4 separate regions of the Homo sapiens genome follow, and all the other regions are linked to region 4. The links are contacts of gene promoters, found by promoter capture Hi-C in blood cells and fetal thymus (Javierre and others, 2016). All regions are on one chromosome and are shown on one strand. The core of a region is centred on a gene start or on the middle of the fragment in contact, and the rest is flanking DNA. Distances in the headings are between cores, read along the strand shown.

Region 1 (2,700 bases), core at 176-2,675, 260 kb before region 4:
GTCATCTACATTTGGGTATAAATGACAGCCACAGAGTATTTACCCTTTTTGGGACGTAATTTTATCAGGAGACCAAAGCTTTTAGCTAAAAACATAAATTTCAAACATTAGGACAGTCATTTTACAGAAACAAAATAAATAATTTCAAAGAAACTATTACCTTCTTAAAGACTAGACTGCGATTGTGAACCCCTGAAGTATCCACAGATCCTGAAGAGTGCCCAGCTGTCTTGACAAGGAAACGGAGAGTCAAGAAGTTTAGTGAGGTCAACAAGAATCCTGCAGCATCTCATCTTCCAGATCTGCAGCAGCCTGTGTTGCAGTCCTACTAAGCTGAAGGCTTAACCATGTCTGCCAGTTCAGGGTACGGAACCCTGGTTACTATTTACTTTCCTTCTTTCTTCCTATAGTGGATATTCTCCTTCAGTGGCCACACAACATCAAAGATTCGCCTTCATTTTTGTATTTTCTACATTGTGTGTACTACCTTCTCAATGTAGAAGCCAGAAAACTTACACATGCTCAGATTCCTGTGTAGTTATAGTGCAATCATGTGACCTATTTTCTATGAATCATATGTATCCACATGAGACCAGGATTTCTTCAAGGGCAGTGTGACGAGATAGTCACAGACAGCGGGAGTGATCTTCTGGTACTTTATCCTGAGCATTATAGATGTTTAATGACAATGACAGTGACATTCCCCCAAAAGCACCCGCACCCCCGCCTTACCCAAAGTGTGGTCTGGGCACTGGGTTTGGCTATGTGGCCTCAGAGTCTGGCCTCTGATCCTCCCAGAGAATCTGTGAGCTATCAGTTATTGTTTAATGAATCTCTCCACCTTATTTTTTTCTTAGACTAGCTAGAAAGGATTCTGTTGTTTGCAGGCTAACAATATACTCCTGAAAGGCAAATACAGTCAGTAAAGGCCCATATCAGCCAAATCCCACCTTACATGTATTAGTATATTCTGAATTTTTCACTCATTAATATCCTGACTTCTGCTTTAAATCTATAGCCTTAACCTTGCACCACATGTCTTACATTCACTTTCTCTTTCCTATAAGGAAGTGGTGCTAACTGAATGACATGGGTGTCAGCAGAACATGCTGTGGCTTCACAACAATGGTTTGTAATATTATGAGATAGCTTTGTTCCTTTTCCTTTTTGTTTCTGATCTGTTTTTGTTTTTCAGGGAGATGAAATTGCTAAGGTAATCTTCAAAGGCAAGGCATCAAAATGGTCCTTTTTTTTTTTTTTTTTTTTTTTTTGAGACAAGTTCTTGCTCTGTTACCCAGGTTGGAGTGCAGTGATGTGATCATAGCATAATAATGCAGCCTCAGCCTGCTGGGCTCAAGTGATCCTCCCACCTCAGCCTCCCAAGAGCTAGGACTACATGTGTGCGCTAATTTTTTAATTTTTATTTTTGTAGAGTTGGGGGGGTCTTGTTATGTTGTCCAGGCTCATATAAAATCTTAGCCACTAGAAATACCATTTATGGCCAAAACCACATATCAAGGACTTGACCGCCCTTTCCCTACATGGGTGTTTCCCTGAACTGTTTTTTTTTGCTGTTGTTGTTTTGGAGACAGAGTCTCTGTTGCCCAGGCTGGAGTGCAGTGGCACAATCACGGCTCACTGCAACTTCCACCTCCTGGGCTGAAGCCGTTCTCCTGCCTCAGCCTCCCGAGTAACTGGGATTACAGGCCCGTGCCACCACACCCAGCTAAATTTTGTGTTTTTTTTGTAGGGATGGGGTTTCACCATGCTGCCCAGGCTGCTCTCGAACTCCTGAGCTCAAGTGATCCACCTGCCTCAGCCTCCCAAAGTGCTAGGATCATAGGTATGAGCAACCATGCCCGGCCCTGAACTGTTCTTAACCTTCAAAATAGCGAACAACGACCACTTCTAGCCTGACACCCAGTCCACAGGGAGACTCATGACTGTCTGCTCTCTTATTACTTAACAGCGATTGATTTTGAGATTGGGCAATGTTATGGGGATTGACTTATTGAGAATATTTTCTGACGTTTTCTTTTTTTGGAACTGCTTTAGAAGTGATAATGTGAACATTCTCCAATGACACATGCTTTTGCTGCTGCAATTATACAAGCGCAAACAACTGTTGCACTTGGATGTGCCCAGGACCTACAGTCTTCCTCTTTGTGCATGATATGTGGGAGCTCAGGCATGGAGAAAAATATCAGAAAATCAAAGTTCTGATGGGCTTTGAGAGGGCCAGGTTAATATACTTTTAGTTTTACTTCTGTTAAGATTAGGTTAAAAGTTCCATATTATCATCATCTTTAAGTGCTAATTATTTACAAGATTTCAATGAAGAATTCTAACAGAAGAATCCATATTTAAGATCTGCAGTAGACTGAATTAAAGGCCTAAATTCTTCATCTTTTCCTGTATCCATGCCATTTGCCACCTAACTTTTCAGTTTCTCCCTCTAAAGCAGGGTTTCTTAGTCTCAGCACTATTGACATTGGGGCTGGATAATTCTTTAATGTGGAGAGCTGTACTGGGCATTGTAGGATGTTTAACTGCATCCATGGCTTCTGCCTAATGGATATCAGTATATTACTCACCACCTGCGATTGTGACAACCAAAAATGCCTCTAGACATTGCCAATATCCTCCCGTGGGGGACAGAATCTCCTCTAGCTGGGAACTACCACTCTAAAGATGGGTAGT
Region 2 (2,700 bases), core at 82-2,581, 290 kb before region 4:
ACTACCACTTTCAGTACCATGTTGAATAGAAGTGGTGAAAGTGGGTATTCTTGTCCTGTTCTAATTCTTAGCGGGAATGTTTTCAACTTGTCCCCATTCATATGTTGTTGGCTGTGGGTTTGTCATAATGGCTTTTACTGTTTTGAGATATGTTCCTTCTATGCCTAGTTTGTTGCGGGTTTTTAATCATAAAGGATGCTGGGTTTTATCAAATGCTTTCTCTGCATTTATTGAGAGAATAATATCATTCTTGTTTTAAATTCTGTTTATGTGGTGAATCACATTTATTGACTTGCATATGTTGAATCATCCCTGCATCCTTGGTATGAAACCCACTAGAACATGGTGAATTTTCTTTTTGATGTGCTGTTGTATTTGGTTTGCTAGTATTTTATTGTGTTGACAATGTTTGCATCTGTTTATCAGGCATATTGGTCTTTAGTTTTCTTTTTTCATTATGTCCTTACCTGGCTTTGGTATCAGGTGATATTGGCATCATAGAATGAATTAGGGAGGATTCCTTCTTCCATAATCATTTGGAATAGTTTCAGTAGGGTTGGTACCAATTCTTCTTCCTCTTCTCCTCCTCCTCCTCCTCCTCCTCCTCTTCCTCCTCCTTCCTCCTCCTCCTCCTTACTTCTTCATCTTCTCCTTCCTCCTTCTTTTCCTTCCTCCTTCTTCTTTCTTCTTCTTCTCCTTCCTTCTTCCTCTTTTCCTTCCTCCTCATTCCTCTTTCTCCTTCCTCCTCCTTCCTCTTTCTCCTTCCTTCTTTTTCCTTCTTCTTCCCCTTCCTCATCCTCCTTCTTCTCCTCCCCCTCCTCCTCCTTCTCCTCCTCCTCCTTCTTCTTTTTTTTCTTTTTTGAGAGAGAGTTTCACTCTGTCACCCAGGCTGGAGTGCAATGGCATGATCTCAGCTCACCGCAACCTCCGCCTCCTGGGTTCAAGTGCCTTGAACCCAGGCACTCAAGTGCCTCAGCCTCCCAAGTAGCTGGGATTACAGGGGTGCACCACAGCACCTGGCTAATTTTTGTATTTTTAGTGGAGACAGGGCTTCACCCTGTTGGCCAGGCTGGTCTTGAACCCCTGACCTCAGGTGATCCATCTACCTCGGCCTCCCAAAATGCTGGGATTACAGGCATGAGCCACCATACCCAGCCCGAATTCTTCTTTGAATGTCTGCTTGAATTTGGCTGTGAATCCATCTGGCCCTGGAGTTTTTGTTGTTGTTGGCATTTTTTTTCTATTGCTGATTCAATCTTACTGCTTGTTATTGCTCTGTTAGGGATTTTTATTTCTTCCTAATTCAAGATAGAAGAGTTGTATGATTCCAGGAATTTAACCATTTCCTCTAGATTTTCTGCTTTGTGTGCATAGAGGTGTGCATGGTCTTCTTGAATGATCATTTGGATTTCTGTGGTGTCAGTTGTAATGTCTCCATTTTCATTTCTAGTTGACCTTATTTGAGTTTTCTCTCTTCTTGGTTAACTAGTGATCTATCAATTTTGTTTATCTTTTCAAATAATAACTTTTTGTTTCATTGATCTTTCGTATTTTTTGTTTCCACTTCATTTAGTTCTGCTTTGATCTTTATTTTTTTTATTTTCTTCTGCTAGCTTTGGGTTTGTTTTTTTCTTGTTGCTCTAGCTCCTTGAGGTGTGATGTGAGGTTGTCAATTTGTGATCTTTCGGGCTTTTTGATGTAGGCATTTGGCACCATAAACTTTCCTCTCAGCACTGCTTCTGCTCTATCCCAGAGGTTTTGATAACTCATGTCACTACTGTCATTCATTTGAAGAATTTTAAAATTCCCATCTTGATTTAATTGTTCACCCAGAAATCATTCAGGAGAAGGTTGTTTAATTTCCATGTATTTGTATAGTTTTGAGGGTTCCTTTTGGAGTTGATCTCTAGTTTTATTCCACTGTGGTCTGAGAAGATACCTGATATAATTTCAATTTTTAAAAGTTTATTGTTTTGTGGCCTATCATATGACCTATCTTGGAGAATGTTCCATGTGCTGATGAAAAGAATGTATATTCTGCAGTTCCTGTGTAGAATGTTCCATAAATATCTGTTAGGCCCATTTGTTTTAGACTGAACTTTAATTCCAGTGTTTATTTTTGATTTTCTGCCTCAATGATCTATCCAGTGCTGTCAGTGGAGTGTTGAAGTCCCCTGCTATTATTGTATTGCTGTTGCACTCTTTTCTTAGGTCTAATAGTAATTGTTTTATGAATCTGGGAGCTCAAGAGTTAGGTGCATATATATTTAGGACTGTAACACATTTTTGTTGGATTGATTATATTATTATTGTATAATAACCTTCTGCAGTCATTATACACTAATAGCTACTCCTGCTTGCTTTTGGTTTCCATTTGCAAGGAATATCTTTTTTCACCCCTTTACCTCGAATCTGTATGAATCCTATGCATTAGGTGAGTCTCTTGAAGACAGCAGATATTTGGTTTGTGATTTTTTAAAATCCATTCTGCCAATCTGTATCTTTTAAGTGGAGCATTTAGAACATTTGAATTCAATGTTAATAATGACATGTGAGGTACTGTTCCAGTCATCATGTTGATTGTTACCTAGATACTTTGGTTTCTAGTATTTCTGGTATAGTTCATTGTGTTATTATTTTATAGGCCCTGTGACTTTTATGCTTTGAAAAGGTTCTATTCTGGTGCACATCAACTTTTTG
Region 3 (2,700 bases), core at 9-2,508, 270 kb after region 4:
AGCCAGGCATGGTGGCTCACGCCTGTAATCCCAGCACTTTGAGAGGCCAAAGTGGACGGATTTCTTGAGGTCAGGAATTCGAGACCAGCCTGGAAAACATGGCAAAGCCCTGTCTCTACCAAAAATACAAAAATTAGCCAGACATGGTGGCGTGTACCTTAATCCCAGTTACCTGAGAGGCTGAGGCAGGACAATCACATGAATCCGGGAAGTGGAGGTTACAGTGAGCTGAGATCGTGCCACTGCACTCCAGCCTGGGAGACAGAGCAAGACTCCATTAAGCAAGGAAGCAAGCAAGCAAGCAAGCAAGCAAACAAGAAAGCAAGAAAGCAAGCAAGCAAGAAAGCAAGCAAGCAAGAAAAAAAGAAAGAAAGCAAGAAAAAGGAAATAAAAGAAAGAAAGAAAGAAAGAAAGAAAGAAAAAGAAAGAGAAAGAAAGAAAGCAAAACAACAAAATAATCATGGATGTTGAAAGTATTTTTCCTCGTTTCTCACTTGACTTTTAATTTTGCATATAGTATTGGACATGCAATATTTTCAATTTTACTCAAATTTATCAATTTTATTATGCCCAAATGTTTTAGACAGATTACCAACTCACCTTCTGACAAAATCAAAGTGGCATTATGTACCCTCCTAGCAATATGCTCCAGCCCATGGGAACCATGGTAGATTGCAAACATGGCAGCCATATTCGCCAAGAGGGCCTAAAAGATAAGAACATTTAAAGAATCACGTGATGGAGGACAATTAGTGGGAGGGTGTAATTACTTGACTTGGGATGTCAAAACTGAAGACAGCGACAAAACAAAATGATCAGATTTCCTACATTCTTTGATAGTTGGGGACAATTAATATATAACCTGCCTGACTACCTGAAAGGAACCATCATCCAAGACACCCTGGAGTTGTTACTATACTAAACCTTCACATTTGACCATTACGAAGGGCTTCTTCCATGCAACAAAATCATGTCACCCTTAAGGGCAAAGATCACACTACCATCAGACATTGAGAAGCAATGTTTAATGTTGGAAGACAGTGAAGCAATAAAGACCTCAGGGAGAAAAAGTGAGATCTGAGAATTTTACACTCAACCAGGCAATTCTTCAAGAATAAAAAGAAACAAGCAATTTTCAAACATTCAAGAACTTCAGGAATAAAATTCTCCTAAGAACTTAAATAAAACACTAGAGGCTGAACTTCTGCCAACCAAGAGTTGAATGGAGAATCTGTGGCAAAGGACTGGCAAAAACGGCAATGCGCACTTCAGCTGGGAGCGGGGTGGTGTGCAACTGTAGTCCCAGTGACTCCAGAAGCCGAGATGGATCACTTGAACCCAGGATTTCGAGGTTACAGTGACCTATGATTGCGCCACTGGACTCCAGCCCGGTTGACAATACAAAACCCTGTCTCTGCAAAATACAGTTGATGTTCAATACTGGGTCCATTTTGTTAGGTACATCTTTTTTTCTGCTAGACTACTAGAGGAAGTCTCTATGGAGCCAATGCAAAATAAGAAACAGTTTCCAAAGGTGAAGTCAGCAAACAAGGAAGTAAATGAGGAGAAAGAGACATCAGAAAACATGGAAGTAGGCATTCTTGTACTAAAAGTCCTAGACAAAGTGTAAACACTCTTATGGACTCCTTACAACAATCAGAAATAAACACAGAAACTCCACAGCACTTTACAGCTGTGGAAAAGGCGAGGCTGAGGTAAAGAATCTGTGACACACTGTGCCCAAATGCTCATGGCTGTGTTGCTGGAAACAGAAACCCAGGCCTGACATTCACAGAATGCCCTGGCAGCCTCCACCACAATATTGTAGAGGTTGGTTCATGTCCCTTTTTAATCTACAGATGATTCCTTCCATAATCAGGAGGCTATATCACACGGCTGAACAACAAATTGATGAGAAGTATAAAACCACTTTTTAAAAACTTCAAAGGGCACTAGAATATCAAAAGAAGAACCAAAAAAATTAAAATAGAGACCAAGAAAATGACAATTTCTTTCACAAATTGAACAAACTTAAAAATACAAAGGGCTTGAATCAGTGGCTCACGCCTGTAATCCCAAGACTTTGGGAGGCTAAGGTGGGAGGATTGCTTTAGCCCAGGAGTTAAAGACCAGCAAGAAGAACATAACAAGACCCCATCTCTAAAATAAATAAATAAAATAACAATAATACAATTAAGGTACTTAAAAGCCTCAAAAGCTAATGAATGCTCAAAATCATTAGTTATTAGGGAAATACAAAACAAAACCACAGTGAGATTATCACTTGACATCCAATAGGATGGCTATAACCAAAGGATAGGAAGTAACAAGCATTGGTGAAAATACGGAGAAATTAGAATATTCATATGCTGCTGGTAGGAAAGTAAAATAATGCAGCCACTTTGAAAAATGTCTGGAAGTTCCTCAAAATGTTAAATGTAGAGTTATATGACCCAGCAATTTCACTGCTAGGAATATAACCAAAAGAACTGAAAACATTACATCCATACAAAAATTTACACAGAAGTGTTCACAGCAGGCTTATTTGAAACACCCCAAATGTTTACCAATTGATGAATGGATAAACAAAATGTAGCATGTCCAAACAATGGGATATTACCCAGCCATAGAAAAGAATTAAGTACACATTCATGCTACAATATGGATGAACCTTGAAAACCTTATGCAAAGAAGCCAGGT
Region 4 (2,700 bases), core at 29-2,528:
ACACTGAAGGATGAGGAAGCTTATAAAGAAAATAGGCATCAAGGTTGGTGGTTGAAATAATACAGAGAAGTAAAATCAAGTGCAAGTTCAGATTTGGTGATTTGGAGTCTCAACTTTGAAGAGACAATGTGTGTTCTATATTATGTAGCATAATTCAGGGATTTCTTTACCCTTTAGTCTCAGGTTTGAAAGAGGAGTTCTGATTCAGAGTCTGGGAGTGTTCCTGAAACCACTAGTGTTTCTACAGGCAATAGAGGAAAAGTCTACCCTCTGGAACAAATTGGTTTTTAGGGAGTCCTTGCTGCCCTTTTCAGGCCTTTAAACACATAGCCAAATCCTCCATCAGCCTTCATGTTTACAAGAACAATTCTCACTTTTTAACTTAGGGAAACACACCACTCAGGACAAGGCAATAATAAACACTACTAAATTATGTGAAAGGGTTATAGAACATAAACTCAAAGGAGGGCTGAAGTTGGTTTGAATGCACAGCTGGATGCTTCATTGTAGCCACATAGGCATGAGTAGGGCAAACTGCTGAAATTTGCTGAGGATCAAATTATGTTCCACAAGATCATGCTCGCAAGAATTACAAGAATATCCAACAAAATCACTAGAGTCTAAGACTTGCTCAAGAATATTCTCTGAGAATAGGCAGCCATAGAATGAGCTAAGTGAAGCTCGACCACAAGACCTCACTGGATTAACGTCCTGATTTTTCCATTGCATAAGTTTACTCTCGGCAGAATTACGGTTGGGGGGAGGTTGGGGTGGCAGGTTGGCAGGGGAGAGTGGATCCACACTCTGATAGATCCTATTTAACTAGTTTTACTTTACTGTGCAGACTACCTCCCACAACAGGTAACCTTGAATGTAGGCAGACATGCTTCCAGAAATGTGAGTGGAGGTAGGGCGGAATAAAGAAAATGCAACTGCAAAACTGAAAATTCATACTAGCACAATGATGTTTAAATGATTTTCAAGTGTTGGAGCTGGTGTGGTGGAAAACAGTTGCCTGACGCTTTGGTTTGAAGGCCAGGGCTTGTCATTTACCATGTCAGGAGAAATTCCTCTCTTTTCGACAATAATCTCTGCACTGCCTACCTCAGGAGGTCCTCGCAATGCCAAAATGCCGCCAGTGTGGGTTGCGCCTCAGCTGAGCACTGATTCTACAGCCTCGCGGTTTGGGCGGGAAGTCCCACCTCCGCAACCCTGACCAGCCCGGCTCCCCACCCCCACCACCCGGAAGTGAACACCACGAGCTAGCGTGTCTACTTCACAGGCCAGGTCGTCAACTCAACTGTCAAGGTGTCCATTGTACCAGCTGGGCCATGGATCCCTCCCGCCTGAAATCTGACTCCACCTGCCAAGAGTCTGAGCCTGCAGGCCTAGATTTCGACTCTGCTGGCCAAGATTATTTCTCTGCAGCCCAATAATTCGACTCTTTCTACCAAGAATTGGACCTGGACTCTCTTAACGAAGATCTTCTTTCCCAGTCCATGCCACATGCCAGGACAGAGACCTCTGTGGGCACATATGAATCCCACTCGACTTCTGAACTGGAGGATCTGACAGAGCCCGAGCAAAGAGAGCTCAAAACCAAACTCACTAAATTGGAGGCTGAAATTGTAACCCTACGCCACGTACTAGCAGCCAAAGAGAGACGCTGTGGGGAACTCAAGAGGAAGTTAGGCCTCACCGCCTTGGTAGGGCTGAGACAGAATCTGTCCAAGAGCTGGCTTGATGTTCAGGTCTCCAACACCTATGTGAAACAGAAGACATCAGCTGCTCTGTCCACCATGGGCACTCTCATCTGCAGGAAGCTTGGAGGCGTGAAGAAGTCGGCCACATTCAGATCTTTTGAAGGTCTGATGGGGACAATCAAGTCCAAAGTCTCAGGGGGCAAAAGAGCTTGGCCCTGACTGTCTTTCTTCTGCGGAGGGTGGGGTTGATCTGCTCTCAGTTTTGGGGTGTGGGGAAGACCCACTCCAGATTCCGGGGAGTGGGAATGAGCCACTCCCAGTTCTGGAGAGTGAGGATGACCATCTCCACTTTCTGGAACCAGAATGAGCCCCCTTGGTAACCTTGCCTGGTACTAAACCAGTGCAAGGACCCCCTTCCCTTATTACATTTGCAACTCTGCCCAACAAAAACAAGCAAGCAAACCACAATGGTAAAGTGGTTAATTCAGGAAATTGACAGAATCCAGTTTTGAGAAAAGAACACAGATATTTGCTGCTTTTAAGATAGAGAACCCAAAGTTTTGTACCTGGTTATTTTTCACTTAAGTTTGTAGACGAAATGTGCCATTATATTAGCTTTCCTGAGACTGTATCTAATGGGCAAGTCAGTGGCTCCAGAGGGGTCTTAGGCCAAAGCCCAAACTCTCTTTTGGAAAACTAGCTTATTAGAAAGCCAAAGTAGAGTTCTGTTTAAGCTTGAAAGAGGTATGAAGTAATCTGTAGTGTTTTTTTGGTTTGTTTGTTTGTTTTCCCTTCCCCATTTCCTTCCTTCCCTCAGTCTCAAAGTCACCTTGAAAGCTTCACCTGGCCTACAACTTTTATTTTAAAAAGATGATCAAGAAAACTTCATCTTCTCTGAGACTCAGAAAAAGAGGGGAAAATAGTGGTAGTGCACTAATTGTTACATTACTAATATAGCTTTTGTAAAACTCGTTTGTTTTCAAAGGTCTGGACTAAG

Evidence for each region. Contacts are between HindIII fragments. The CHiCAGO score rates a contact against its expected background, and 5 or more counts as called.
Region 1: a fragment that was not itself captured here is called in contact with the fragment with the promoter of TPD52L3 in region 4 in 1 of 17 cell types (endothelial precursors); the score reaches 10.4 in endothelial precursors.
Region 2: a contact is called between a fragment that was not itself captured here and the fragment with the promoter of TPD52L3 in region 4, in 1 of 17 cell types (endothelial precursors). The highest score is 5.0, in endothelial precursors.
Region 3: a contact is called between a fragment that was not itself captured here and the fragment with the promoter of TPD52L3 in region 4, in 1 of 17 cell types (endothelial precursors). The highest score is 6.0, in endothelial precursors.

The regions. Positions count from the first base shown.
Region 1 is chr9:6,067,994-6,070,693 of GRCh38, forward strand. It overlaps LOC124902116 (a long non-coding RNA gene), which reads right to left and starts at 299. Exons shown (of 2, transcript XR_007061410.1): 1 at 161-299. RefSeq lists enhancers at 1,147-1,196, 1,207-1,266. The HindIII fragment of the contact is 2,699 bases long and covers 77-2,700 here.
Region 2 is chr9:6,040,294-6,042,993 of GRCh38, forward strand. No RefSeq gene overlaps it. Among named protein-coding and RNA genes, the nearest start is that of RANBP6, 26 kb to the left of the region's middle. The HindIII fragment of the contact is 4,400 bases long and covers 1-2,700 here.
Region 3 is chr9:6,594,414-6,597,113 of GRCh38, forward strand. GLDC (glycine decarboxylase) reads right to left here. Exons shown (of 25, transcript NM_000170.3): 9 at 601-706. Among named protein-coding and RNA genes, the nearest start is that of GLDC, 50 kb to the right of the region's middle. The HindIII fragment of the contact is 8,591 bases long and covers 1-2,700 here.
Region 4 is chr9:6,327,097-6,329,796 of GRCh38, forward strand. It overlaps TPD52L3 (TPD52 like 3), which reads left to right and starts at 1,279. Exons shown (of 2, transcript NM_001001874.3): 1 at 1,279-1,866. The coding sequence starts at 1,500. It overlaps LOC107987046 (a long non-coding RNA gene), which reads right to left and starts at 1,172. Exons shown (of 3, transcript XR_001746614.2): 1 at 1,105-1,172. The HindIII fragment of the contact is 1,804 bases long and covers 18-1,821 here.